2 separate regions of the Homo sapiens genome follow, and region 1 is linked to region 2. Evidence: promoter capture Hi-C in 16 types of primary human blood cells and fetal thymus (Javierre and others, 2016). All regions are on one chromosome and are shown on one strand. Each heading gives the region's core, a stretch centred on a gene start or on the middle of the fragment in contact. The rest is flanking DNA. Distances are from core to core; before and after follow the strand shown. Region 1 overlaps PIANP (PILR alpha associated neural protein). Region 2 holds the start of ACRBP (acrosin binding protein).

Region 1 (6,695 bases), core at 496-2,995, 45 kb after region 2:
TTCATTATGAACACCTAAATATGAACCCTTTTAGGAAGCCTTGCCTGATTGCTCCAACCTGTAATGGTCCCTCTGAATTCCCATAGTATTTAATACGTACCTTTTATTGATATTTTAACTATTTCATACATGTGATTCCCCAGCAAGATTGTCAGTTCCTCATGGAAGGAAATACGTTGCTTTGCTGAGCATATAGTAAATGCTGAATATGTTGTTTGAACAAGTGAATGCTGTTACAAGCGTGCACCCCGACCTGGCCAGAATCCCCCTGGGCTCAGCTCTAAGCAGAACTGAGGTCTCTCCTACTAATGGTAAGAGCCTCTTGCTGAGAAAAATAACCTTTTTTTTTTTTTTTTAAAGACAGAGTGTCACCCTGTTGCCCAGGCTGGAGTGCATTGGCGCCATCTTGGCTCACTGCAACCTCTGCCTCCTGGGTTCAAGCGATTCTCCTGCCTCAGCCTCCCTAGCAGCTGGGATGACAGTCGCCCGCCACCACACCGGGCTAATTTTTTGTATCTTTAGTGGAGTCGGGGTTTCACCATGTTGGCCAGGCTGGTCTCGAACTCCTGACCTCAACTGATCCACCTGTCTCAGCCTCCCAAAGTGCTGGGATTACAGGCGTGAGCCACCACGCCCAGCAAAAAATAACTTTAACAGAAATAATTATAATGCTCATTTTACAGATAATGAAAATAAGCCTGTAAAGGATTAAGTGATTTTTTCCCCCAAGGTCAAAGCAAGAAAGTAACAAAGTACGCCTTTAAATATTTAAATAGATGATGCATTTCATTGTAATTGTAGTTTGTATCTTTTTTAAAGTGTCTGTTCCCTTTATCACATTTTTGGGCTCAGCACTCAGTCTCTGTTGACTGAGTAGCAACAGTTGGCAGAGTAAGGATTTTAAGGGCTCAGATGTGACCAGACCTATTGCTGTGTGGGTTAGAGATTGCTGATTCAAGAAACCTTGACATCAGGGGCTGGTATTGAAAGGTGGGAACAGGAAATAGTAATAATAGCTATACGTTCTGGTTCTCCTCCTGCTCTTTTCCTATTTATGTTAACTGGGCACTTCCTGGGTCTCCGTGTCTCCGTCAGCCCTATTCCTGCCCTTGCTATAAGAAGGAAGTTTCCCAGCTACTTGGGAGGTTGAGGCAGGAGAATCACTTGAACCTGGGAGGCGAAGGTTGTGGTGAGCCAAGATTGCGCCATTGCACTCCAGCCTGGGCAACAAGAACTAAACTCCATCTCAAAAAAAAAAAAAAGAAGTTTCAAGTGCTTTGAACTCCTTAGGGAAAAGCTTTAGAACAATAAATGTGGGGCGTAGGGGGAGGAGGGCTGTTAATTTTAGCCTGGGGTTCTCCAGCTGGCATACTGTTTCCATCTTGAATCACTTCCACACCCTAAGCTGTGCCTGGGAGATCCCTCCCTCCTCCTGGGGGCTTCCCCATTCCCTGGTTTGGTCTAAGCCGCAGTGGCAAGCATTCCAGAAAAATGCTAAGAGAAGCCTGGCTGAGTCATTTGATGCACAGCTCAGGAGGCAAAGAAAGGATGGTGATGAGACGCTGGTTCCAGTGGTGGCTGTGATGTGTGACCTCGAAGAACCTTCCAGTTCCCAAAAGGACAGCATGGCCATTGTTTTTTTCTTGGCTAGTGACTCTGCTGCAGCTTTCTGAGGACCTCTCAAAGCCCCACAGTCTCTGTTTCAACTACAGGAGAGAAAAGTTAGGGCTTGCTCCCCAGGGCCTTACGACTCTTCATGGCTAACGTGACAGTGCAGTATCATTTGGGAGAATTTTTTTAGTACAGTTCAGAGTCTGGAACAGTCTCCTTCCTCCTCTGTCTTTCCTGCCTTCTGACTTTCCATGGGGAAAGGAGGACATTTAGGAAGAGGGAACAGGTGAGGATTTCCAGTACCTTGCTGGTGTATTTTAATTTATTTAAATTTAGAGAAACAGTGGTCTAATCAGGCAGTAATTAATTCCCTCTTCATTAGGGGCCTTCATGTTTGCCTTTTGCATATGGATGAGCCACGGGTCACACTGTCCCTTTGAAGAGAGATCCTTGCTGAAGGTGAGAGCCCAGTGTGCTCTCCGGCACTTGAGCTCCTTCCCCTTCTGTGCCAATGCTTCTCTTTTCTCCCCACCCTCACCTGACAAGGACTAGATTCCTGTGGGGAAAGAAGGAAAGGTTAATGAAGCTTCCTATCCCACCCTCCTTGGATCTGGATCCCTCCCTCACGGCCCACAGTGTATACCATCCATGCCTCATCCTGTACCCTCAGGTTTTATCCAGCCCGCTCTCCCATCAGCCACCTGCTGGGATATCTTCATGCCCCCAGTGAGTTGACTCCTCAGAAGCTTGTTTGCCGGGCACCTCTGCTTTGAGTTGGTTCATCAATCCTTGGCCCAGCTCTGCTTCTTTCCCTTGTAGCAGTCCTTTTCTTAGGGAGTGTGACGCCCTGAATGCACACACTGCTCTAATCCTGAGAAATACACTGCCTCTTCCTGGCACTCAGCATTATGTGCTGCACAGGCTCAGCCACACTTCCCTCAGCTCACAGTAAAGCTCCCAACACCTAAAGCACACACCTACCAACACACAGACATTCCTAACCTAGCTTGAAAGATAAATGCATGGGGGCATATCCAGTCCAGAGCAGCCCAGGCCACCCTTTTGTACACTACATCATCCCTATCCTCCCTGGGGCCACCGCATTTCCAGGGAGCAAGTGGGGCACAGATTGGGGGAGGGGGGATAGATGGGACCTGGGTGGTTACCATAGCAATAGAGCCTAGCAACAGCTGAGAGGCTGATGTGTGGGTTTTCACAGGGCTGTTACAAGAGCCAAACCTAGAAATTGGGGACTGAGAGGTGACTGATCCCAGCTGGGCAGCCTGCATTCCCTCCCCAAAAACACCCCTTGATCCCACCCCCACACCCCTGCAGTGCCTCTCTCTGAGAGGGCAGAGTAGGGAAAGCTAACGAGTTAACCACAGGGCTTCTGATTCTGCACAGCTTTTGGGGGGCAGCTGTGGGTGGGGGCAGGTTAGGGAGCAAAGCTGAAAATAAACCAAGCAGGGCAGCTTCTTTCGGATGGCTGGCTCCCTCTCATCTTTTCTCCATTGCTCCATTTTTCTCTTCTCCTTTCCCCCTTCTCCCTCCGTCTGTCTTATCAGGTCTCTCTTCCGCCTTGATCCACCTCCTATCCTTCCATGTAACTTTCCTTTTCTTCTGTCTCCCTTTTTTTGGTCTCTCTTGACCCTCCCTGGCAAGGAATAAGTGAGCCACGATTTCTATTCTAGTTTCTCTCTTGTACCACTGCTCCTCGTCAGGATGGCTCCCTTCCATTTTGTCCCAAGTTAAAGCCCCAGTTGGCCCCCAGCTCCAGGTCAGAGGAGGGCAGGTGACTTAGGTCTAGAGGGGGTCCCCACCTCATCCTGTGCCTCCTCCTAGCTGCCCACCCCTCTCCTCCTCTCTACGGGGGTCAGAAGGCAGAACCAGGGGACTCGAGTATCTTGCAAAGGCTTTATTTGAAAATTTTGAAACTTACATCCCACAGTAATTCAAGATGATCACCACAAGAAGAAGAAAGAGATAATACAAAAATATATATCACAGCCTAGGAGCCAGGGAAGAAGGGAAGGAGGAAGGTGGAAAAACCAGTGAGAAGGAGGGAAGAACCTGAGGAGGGGGAAAGGGCAGGGAAGCAAAAGGAAGGAGAGTGGAAGGAAGGAGGGAGGAAAGGAGGGGACAGGAGGGAGTCCGGGAAGGGAAGGGTAGACTTGGAGGCAGAGCTCCCGATGGCCTTGAACCAGCTGACTCCGGTCCCTGGCAGCCTAGGTGGAGTTAGGGAGGCCCAAAGGGAGGCTGGGAAGGGAGGACTGGCTCAGGGGGCTCTGAAGTCCAGAGAATGGCACACACACAGACAGCCAGGACAGACAAGACAAAAGGGACTGTAGGAGAAAGGGAAGGGCAAATGGGAGTCCCTTTCTCATGTAGTGCAGCAGGCGACTCCCCAAAACCCATCTGTCAGAAAACAGATTTTAGCAGTGGGCTGGGGGTGAAGTCTGGGGCCTCACTACCCCATTCCCAAGGGGGAGCCCTCAGGGTGATGCCGGCATCCTTGGAGTAGGATGGGGAGACAGAGAAACAAATGGTGTGGAATGGGACGAGACCATGACCGATGAGGGCCCAAGGAGCCCCCAGCTCACCTCCCACCCACCTCTGGAGCAGCACGCAGGGGCTGCGGAAACGAGGTGGGTGGGTGTTCATGAGGGAGAGAGTGAGCACGCCGCACACCACCACAACATCAGGCCGGGAAACGCACATGAGAGGTAAAGTGTGCAGGAAACGCTGACCACTGAGTGAGCTGAGCACAGAATGTGGGAAGGAGAGAGTGCAAATGTGAGACGAGAGAACATGAGAGTCAGCTGAGCGGAGCGGTATGGACGGGGAGAGGGTGCAGGAGCGTGTGCAAATGGCCTGTGAAGGTGGAGGTGAGTGTGCAAGGCTTTCATGTGAGTGCACAAGGGTGGGGACAGGGACCCGAAGTCACAGATATGTGAGGCCCCCACCTGCAGGAGGGCGAGCAGATAGGATTGCCCGTGGGGCTGGGGAGTGTTCCGGGTGGTGTGCAAGGGGCAGGAGCCAGGAGCCCCTGTGGCCCCAGCTCCCCACAGCTGCCCCACCCTCAGTGGGATGGGGGCTGTGCCGGCCCCTTGGCCTCCTGCTTGGCTGCACCCCAACATTGGGGGCATCACAGATTCACCAGGGGAATCCTGAGAGGAAGAGGGAAAGGGCACAGTCAGGAACCAAGGGGTAGGCCAGAATAGAAGGGGAAGTTCAAGACAAAGAGGGGGAATCAAGGTTAAGAGGGCAGAGTTGTCTTAGACAAGGTGGCATGAGAAAAAACCAAAGAGGGCAGAGTTGGAGTTATGGGCAGCAGAGAATAGGACACAGATCCTGAGAGACTGGGAGAAGGAAGGGTGCCTCCCAGAGAGGAGCTGGTCCAGCCCCCTTGGGAGGGCCAGGGGCTGTGGGAGGCCACGCCTGCCTCCTCACTACCCATCCAGAGGGCACCCCCACCCCAGCTCTGAAGACCTAAGTTGCCTTCCCTCTTTGCCCTCCCATCCCATTGCCCCTGCCCTCACCGGTTCAACTGGAAGGCTGGAGCCCCCTTGGGGTGGGGCATCCCAGGCCGGGGTCCCCCTCGGGGCTCCTCATGGTCAGGGGTGGGGGTAGGTGAGTCCCCGAAGGCCCCCAGCACAGTGACTCCAGCCGGGGACAGGTCTGTCAGTGGCTGCTGGCTCTCCTCCTGCCTCAGGGCACCTTGCTGCCCTGAGGGTCTGCGTCGCTTCTGGCTGCGGTCCCAGCTGGGGTACCAGAGGAAAAGAGGTTCTCTTGCACACTCAAGTAGCCCCCATCCTGGGCCTGCACCAGTGGTCACCCCCAGCCTCGCCCAGTCACTCCCAACATCTTATAGCAGAGAAACTGGCCTTTAACAGTTCTCTCTACTAAATCCCCTGGGACTCTGTGCCCATAAAGCCACTTCCCCTGCCCTCTAGGGGAGCTTGGTAATCTAAACCTCCTTACCCTCCAAACCTGATCCAGATCGACAAAATTAATATCCCCTCCCCACCACCACAATGTCCTCTCCCCTACATGCCCAGAAGAGTCATTTCTGTCTTCAGCAGACAACTGGCAGGTTTAGTTCTAGTTCAAAGCAAGCTGATGACTTGGACACCTGAGTCTAATGATTCTCTCAGTAAAGTGTGAAGGACTGAGTGATCCATTATTAAATGTGTGCAAAGAAAGCTCCAGGTTTTCTTGCTCCCCCCAGGCAACCCTAAGAAGGGCTCTGCAGACTGGGTCAGCTTTCTCTGTCTTGGAGGAAGTAGGGGCAGGGGAGGCTCACCAGGAATGCACAGGAATAATTCCCCTGCCCTCCCTTATCCTTGTATTTCCCTGGGAGACAGAATCTGCCCTGATTTCTCACCGTCTTCCCCCAGCCAAATCCTTAATTATCTTTTCCCAAGGTCTTGCCTTCATCCAGCATTTCCCACCCACCCCCCAGCAAAATTGCTGCCACTGCCCCTCGTGGTTAGAGCCTCGACTGCCAAACATTCCGTCCCCATCCACCAGCACCTTCCTCCTCCCAGCTTACCAGAACTTGAAGATGATGCCAGTGGCCACGAGAACAATGATGATGGAGATGGTAATTGTGACATAGAGCTGGGGGTCCACACCTGATTGGGGTGGGAAGAAAGTTTTAGGGAGCCCCGAGGTGGTAGGAGCCAAGAGGGGCTGGGGGCTGGGCTGTGGGCTCTGTCGGCTGGAGTGGCATTGCTGTGTGGATCCACACTGCCGGCTCTGTCTGCCCCTCTGGAGCCTCACTCTTTATTATCACCAGCATTCCCCTGAGTTTTCAGCTCTTTTCCTCCACTTTCCCAAATGTATTTCACCAAATCTTATGTGTATATGTGATGAGGATGAGGCCCCATGATCAGCGAGAACCTATCACTATGCCTGGAAACTAAGGGGTGGAGATGTCCTAGTCTCTGCCATGGCCCAACTCCCAAACCACAGGCCCTGTTCCTCCATCAGCACTCCCTGAGCCAAGACATCTCCCGGGTAGTGCCCTTCATTCATGGCATTCTCTGCCCAGAATACTCCCACTCTCTTTTCAAGGGCCAGCT
Region 2 (6,178 bases), core at 855-3,354:
ACAGGACTCTCTGCAGGAAGAGAAGGAAAATGGGAAAGCCTTTCCTAAAGGGCAGACTTCTGCTCCAGCTGGTTCTTCAACCCCTTTTCCAGCATGTCTTATCTCTCAGTTTCTAGGCAGGGATAAAGGGACATGGTCCCTGCTGGAACCCTCTAGACCTGAGAAAGGGTCCCTTCAGAAGATGAATCTCTGTTTGTCTGGGCCACATCCCTGCCGTCACTTTTGCATTTGACTCAAAATCACTGACCTGTTCGAAGAAACGTAAGGGCTTATCTCTTTGCCTCTTCCCATCCCTCTTCCCTACTTCTTTTTGTTTGGGTTTTGGGTTTGTTTTTTTTGTTTTTTTTTTTTGAGACGGAGTCTCACTCTGTCACCCAGGCTGGAGTGCAGTGGCGCGATCTCGGCTCACTGCAAGCCCCACCTCCCGGGTTCACGCCATTCTCCTGCCTCAGTCTCTCGAGTAGCTGGGACTACAGGCGCCTGCCACCACGCCCAGCTAATTTTTTGTATTTTTAGTAGAGACAGAGTTTCACCGTGTTAGCCAGGATGGTCTCGATCTCCTGACCTCATGATCTGCCTGCCTCGGCCTCCCAAAGTGCTGGGATTACAGGCGTGAGCCACCGCACTCGTCCCTGTTGTTGTTTTTTTTTGAGACACAGTCTTGCTCTGCCACTCAGGATAGGGTGCAGTGGCATGATCTCGGCTTACTGCAACCTTTGCCTCCCGGGTTCAAGCAATTCTCCTGCCTCAGCCTCCCGAGTAGCTGGGATTACAGGCGCCCATCACCAAGCCCGGCTATTTTTTTTTTTTTTTTTTGTATTTTTAGTAGAAACGGGGTTTCACCATGTTGGCCAGGCTGGTCTCGAACTCCTGACTTCAGGTGATCTGCCCATCTCGGGCTCCCAAAGTGCTGAGATTACAGGCATGAGCCACCATGCCCAGTCTCTTCTCTACTTTTCTTGCAGTAACAGAATTGTTCAATCTGAATATCCAAGGTGAGACTGTATTCATATATAATCTGGGTAAATGACTGGCAAAATGGCAGGGAAGGAGGAGCTAAGGATGACTCTCCTGGAACCCTTCCTCAACTCCCCACTGCTGCCGCCTCTCCCTTGGCCCTGGGGCACCAAATCCAACCTTTGTCCTGGGCCTCACCTTGGCATAGTAGACGTGGTTGGAGCAACGGTAGTGAGTGAACTGGCAGAAAGACTCAAACCAGGAGGCATAAGGGAGGTTGGAGCAGACAGCACCTGAGAAAGGGCAGGGGTGGAGAAGATGAACCCGTGGGGAGCTTGGGGTGGGGCTGTGGGCAATGGACTCCACGCCATGGGGAGGGTGGAGAGTACGAGCTCATGGTGTGGTGCCAGCCATGCCCTTCCCCGCCTCACATGAGCACAGGGGTTTTTGCCCTGAGGTTTGGGTGAACACTCTGGGTGCCTCGGTTTCCCCCCTAGTCTGGCCCTCACCATCGGGCACTAAGCCGTGGTTTTCATATTGGTCCAGCTGGACGAGTGTGGGATTCCGGCAGCCGTGGGTTGCACGGAGACGGCAGGTAGTCTCTGCCTTCCAGGTTGGAGTCAGCAGTGCGAAGAAGCGTTCGTATTCGGTAGGAGAGAGAGGGCTGCCTGGAGTGGAGGCCTGAGTCGAATCCTGGGCTGCGGCAGGTGCCAGAGGCAGGAGCAGCACTGCGGAGCGGGCGAACGGATGATGGAAGGACCGAACCCCAAAACCCGCTCCGAGACCAGGACAGACAGACCCAGACTGGCAAATTAGGAACGGGGTGAGGGTTATCCCTGCTGACCAGGGCGGGGGGAGTCTAGAGACAGAGGCAAAGGTCCGGCCGCGGGCGGGGGGAGATGGGAGTATCCCAGGACCTAGGGAGCCGACCCAGCGCGACCACCATGAGGAAGCGATCCAGAAACCGTAAAAGCAGAGCTCTCGGGAGGGAGAGGACTAGCCCGGGGAGAGTCTGTTGGAGCAGGTGTAAACCTCTCACCCTTCAGGAGTGAGGGAAGGAAGCCAGCGGCTGGCTTCCTCATGGCCGGAGAAGATCCGCCCGCGTCCCGTGGACACAAGCCGCCTCTAACGGGCCAAGCCGCAGAGAGAGCCGCAGGCGCGGGGCGGGGCGCACGCGGGCACCGCCCACGCGTCACAAAGAGCGGGCCGGGGCGGGGCCTCGACAGCCGGGCTCTCAGGGCCCTAAAGTGGCCAGAGCCCATCCAGATGGTAGGAATGGCAAACAGCTACCTTCACTTAGCGTCTTTTTCTTTTTTTTTTGAGACGGAGTCCTACTCTGTCGCCCAGGCTGGAGTGCAGTGGTGCGATCTCGGCTCACTACAACCTCGGCGTCCCAGGTTCAAGTGATTCTCCTGCCTCAGCCTCCCGAGTAGCTGGGACTATAGGTGCACGCCACCACGCCCAGCTAATTTTTGTATTTTTAGTAGAGATGGTATTTCACCATGCTGGCCAGATGGTCTCGATCTCTTGACCTTGTGATCCGCCCACCTCGGCCTCCCAAAGTGCTGGGATTACAGGCGTGAGCCACCATGCCCGGCCTAATTTTTGTATTTTTAGTAGAGACTGGGTTTCACCATGTTGGCCAGGCTGGTCTTGAACTCCTGACTTCAAATGATCTGCCCACCTCGGCCTCCCAAAGTGCTGGGATTACAGGTGTGAGCCACCGTAGCCAGCCACTTAGCATCTTTACATGCACTACCTTACGTAATTGCCATAGGAATCCCATAAGGTAGATACACTATCATTCGTTTTACAGATGAGAAATCGGGGCTTAGGGAAGCAACTCGCCCAACAAACAGGTCGTGAGGTCTAGAGCTAAGCGCAGGCAGAGATAGAATGTGCAAAACCAAGTCAAGGCCTATCTGGGTAGGAACTAGACAGGGCGCCTCCATGAGCAAAATGGGTCCAAGGGGAAAACAAGAGGGTGGCTCAGTGGTCTACGAAAGTGGTTTCCAAGGGAGAATCGAGTAAGACAGTCCACTGAGGTATGGGAGGAGAACTTTTGCTTTTGTATCTGTTTTGTGTTTAAAATGAGAAATTCCAGCCTGGGCAACAGGGCGAAACCTCGTCTCTACAAAAAGTACAAAAAATTAGCCAAGCGTGGTGGCACGTGCCTGTAGTCCCAGTTTCTTGGGGGGCTGAGATGGGAGGATCGCTTGAGCCCATGAGGCCAAGGCTGCAGTGAGGTGCAATCGGGCCACTGCTCTCCAGCCTGGGTGACAAAGTGAGACCCTGTCCCCACCCAAAAGCAAAAGTAAAAAAGAAAAATAAAACAAGAAATTGTCTTGGGCCAGACTTGGTGGCTCACGCCTGTAATCCCAGCATTTGGGAAGTCAAGGCGGGTGGATTCCTTGAGCCCAGGAGTTCCAGACCAGCCTGGGCAACATGGCGAAACCCTGTCTCTACAAAAAATACAAAAATTGTCAGGTGTGGTGGTGTGCGCCTGTTGTCCCACTTACTACTTGGGGAGGCTGAGGTAGGAGGATCACCTGAGTCTTCAGAGGTCAAGGCTGCAGTGAGCTGAGATCTCACCACTGTGCTCCAGCCTGGGTGACAAAGTGAGACCCTGTCTCAAAAATAAAATAAAATAAAATAAATTAATAAAATAGAGACCAGGCACTGTGGCTCATTCCTGGAATTCCAGCACTTTGGGAGGCCAAGGAGGGTGGATCTCTTGAGGCCAGGAGTTTGAGACCAGCCTGGCCAAAATGGTGAAACTTGGCCGGTGCGATGGCTCATGCCTGTAATCCTAGCACTTTGGGAGACCAAGGCAGGCAGATCACGAGGTCAGGAGATCAAGACCATCCTAGCTAACACGGTGAAACCCTGTCTCTACTAAAAATACAAAAAATTAGCCAGGCGTGGTGGCATGTGCCTGTAGTCCCAGCTACTCGGGAGGCTGAGGCAGGAGAATTGCTTGAACTCGGGAGATGGAGGTTGCAGTGAGCCGAAATCACGCCACTGCACTCCAGCCTGCATGACAGAGTGAGACTCCATCTCAAAAAAAAAAAAAGGGTGAAACCCAGTCTCTACTAAAAATACAAAAATTATGGCTGGTCTCAGCACAGTGCAATCTCTGCCTCCTGGGTTCAAGTGATTCTCCTGCCTCAACCTCCCAAGTAGCTAGGATTATAGGCACATGCCACCACATCTGGCTAATTTTTGTATTTTTAGTAGAGATGGGGTTTTAACATGTTGGCCAGACTGGCCTCGAACTCCGGACCTCAGGTGATCCACCCACCTCAACCTCCCAGAGTGCTGGGATTACAGGTGTGAGCCACCGCACCCAGCCTATTTATTTTTTTGAGACGGAGTCTCACTCTATCGCCCAGGCTGGAGTGCAGTGGTACAATCTCAGCTCACTGCAACCTCTGCCTCCCAGGTTCAAGCGATTCTCCTGCCTCACCCTCTCGAGTAGCTGGGATTACAGGCACCCATGACCACGCCCAGCTAATTTTTGTATTTTTGGCCGAGACCGGGTTTCGCCATGTTGGCCAGGCTAGTCTTGAACTCCTGACCTCAGGTGATCCACCTCCCTTGGCCTCCCAAAGTGTTGGGATTACAGGCGTGAGCTACCGGGCCTGGCCTACTTTAAAAAAAATTTTAAAAAATGAAAAAAAGAAATCAGCTTGGGTGCTGTGGCTCACGCCTGTAATCCCAGCACTTTGGGAGGCCAAGGCAGGCAGATCATGAGGTCAAGAGATGGAGACCATCCTGGCCAACACGGTGAAACCCTGTCTCTACTAAAAATACAAAATTAGCTGGGCGTGGTAGCATGTGCCTGTAGTCCCAGCTACTTGTAAGACTGAGGCAGGAGAATCACTTGAACCCGGAGGCGGAGACTGCAGTGAGCCAAGATCACGCCACTGCACTCCAGCCTGGCAACAGAGTGAGACTTCGCCTCAAAGGAAAAAAAAAAAGAAGTCAAGCTAATGTATAGTATAGCAGTACGTATGTATAGCACAAATACATCATTTATTGGAAATTAAGTGAAAGATGTTTTATGGAGAAAAGATGCATGATTTACAAAGTTTTGGAGACCCCCTGGTCTGAGGCCTACCCTCCAGCACCTCTGTCTTTCCCAAGTTGAGAACTTACAAGTTCTCGGACAGAGGCACCACTCTGGTTTCATGTCGTGTCCTAATTCTGGCATGCCATCCTCTCACATTGCATCCAACCCAGAGGACGCAAAATGAATGCTCAGCATGTTTACTAAAACAGTGTCTCTACAATAAACACAGCAGGCCAACATGTATAGCTTTTATTTACCTACCCAAGTTCCTTTTACATGTGAGTTATCTGCATTCCACCTTGCCCCCTCTCCCAGGATGAATCCTCTTGGCACAGAGGAAGGGGTGCCCCTTCAACTAGGGCCAGAGCCTAGATGACCTGGTGGATCCCCCACCATGAAAAAAGCAGGAAGGGAATGGAGAAGAAAAGTGTTGATCACACCTAGCCCTCACCACAGGAGGGGGAATGAAGAGGTCTGGGGGACTGCCCCCATGCTATGCCCCAGTCCTTAAATACAAAGCAAGGAGAATGAAAAGGACCCTCCCTCTGAAATACAGCACCGACCTCAGCATGGAGGCAAAAGGACAGTGGGCAAGACCACGTCCCTCCGAAGGGAGAGGGCTGAAGGAGAGCACATACCGTTAGTGGCTGCGGCACCCCTCCCTACCAGGGTCTGATGCAGCCTCAGCACCGGGAGTGGGGAGAGGGGAGGAGAAGGGATGACAGCACTGTGCCATCCACTCCTCCCTGAACCCCTGGCCCCAGCACAGGCATTCCTCTGCCCACTAGCCCAAGTCAGGGGATGTGGAAGAAACTGTGTTGGAATCCAAGGCCCTTATCTATTTCTTCTTCCGTTCTTGGGAGCAGCGTGGGCAAAACCTGAAACAGAGAAGGGGAGAGAAAAGTGAGTGAAAGGGAGAATGCCCTTGACCACTCAACTTAGGGACCCTCCAACTCCTGCCACTTACCATTTCCCCCGAGGCTTGGTTGTCAGCCCCACACAGGCAAAATGGAACCACTCAATGGAACACTGGAAGAGGAAGAAAGAAGTAGTCAGGGGCCAGGAAGGGCCAGAGGAAGGAGAGAAAGCCCCTCCAGATTCCTTAGGAACATCCTGTCCTTTACTCCATCCTTTTGGAGAATTCTTGGA

Evidence for each region. Contacts are between HindIII fragments. The CHiCAGO score rates a contact against its expected background, and 5 or more counts as called.
Region 1: a fragment that was not itself captured here is called in contact with the fragment with the promoter of ACRBP in region 2 in 16 of 17 cell types (naive CD4 T cells, activated CD4 T cells, naive CD8 T cells and 13 more); the score reaches 20.8 in naive CD4 T cells.

What each region holds. Positions count from the first base shown.
Region 1 is chr12:6,690,280-6,696,974 of GRCh38, forward strand. It overlaps PIANP (PILR alpha associated neural protein), which reads right to left. Exons shown (of 5, transcript NM_001244014.2): 4 at 6,164-6,245; 5 at 3,512-5,372. The coding sequence ends at 5,147. Among named protein-coding and RNA genes, the nearest start is that of ZNF384, 4.3 kb to the left of the region's middle. RefSeq lists an enhancer at 6,503-6,612. The HindIII fragment of the contact is 900 bases long and covers 1,296-2,195 here.
Region 2 is chr12:6,645,328-6,651,505 of GRCh38, forward strand. ACRBP (acrosin binding protein) reads right to left here and starts at 2,105. Exons shown (of 10, transcript NM_032489.3): 1 at 1,997-2,105; 2 at 1,467-1,685; 3 at 1,156-1,250; 4 at 1-10. The coding sequence starts at 2,039. It overlaps ING4 (inhibitor of growth family member 4), which reads right to left. Exons shown (of 8, transcript NM_016162.4): 7 at 5,997-6,058; 8 at 4,974-5,907. The coding sequence ends at 5,868. RefSeq lists enhancers at 1,526-2,039, 1,963-2,032. The HindIII fragment of the contact is 16,958 bases long and covers 1-6,178 here.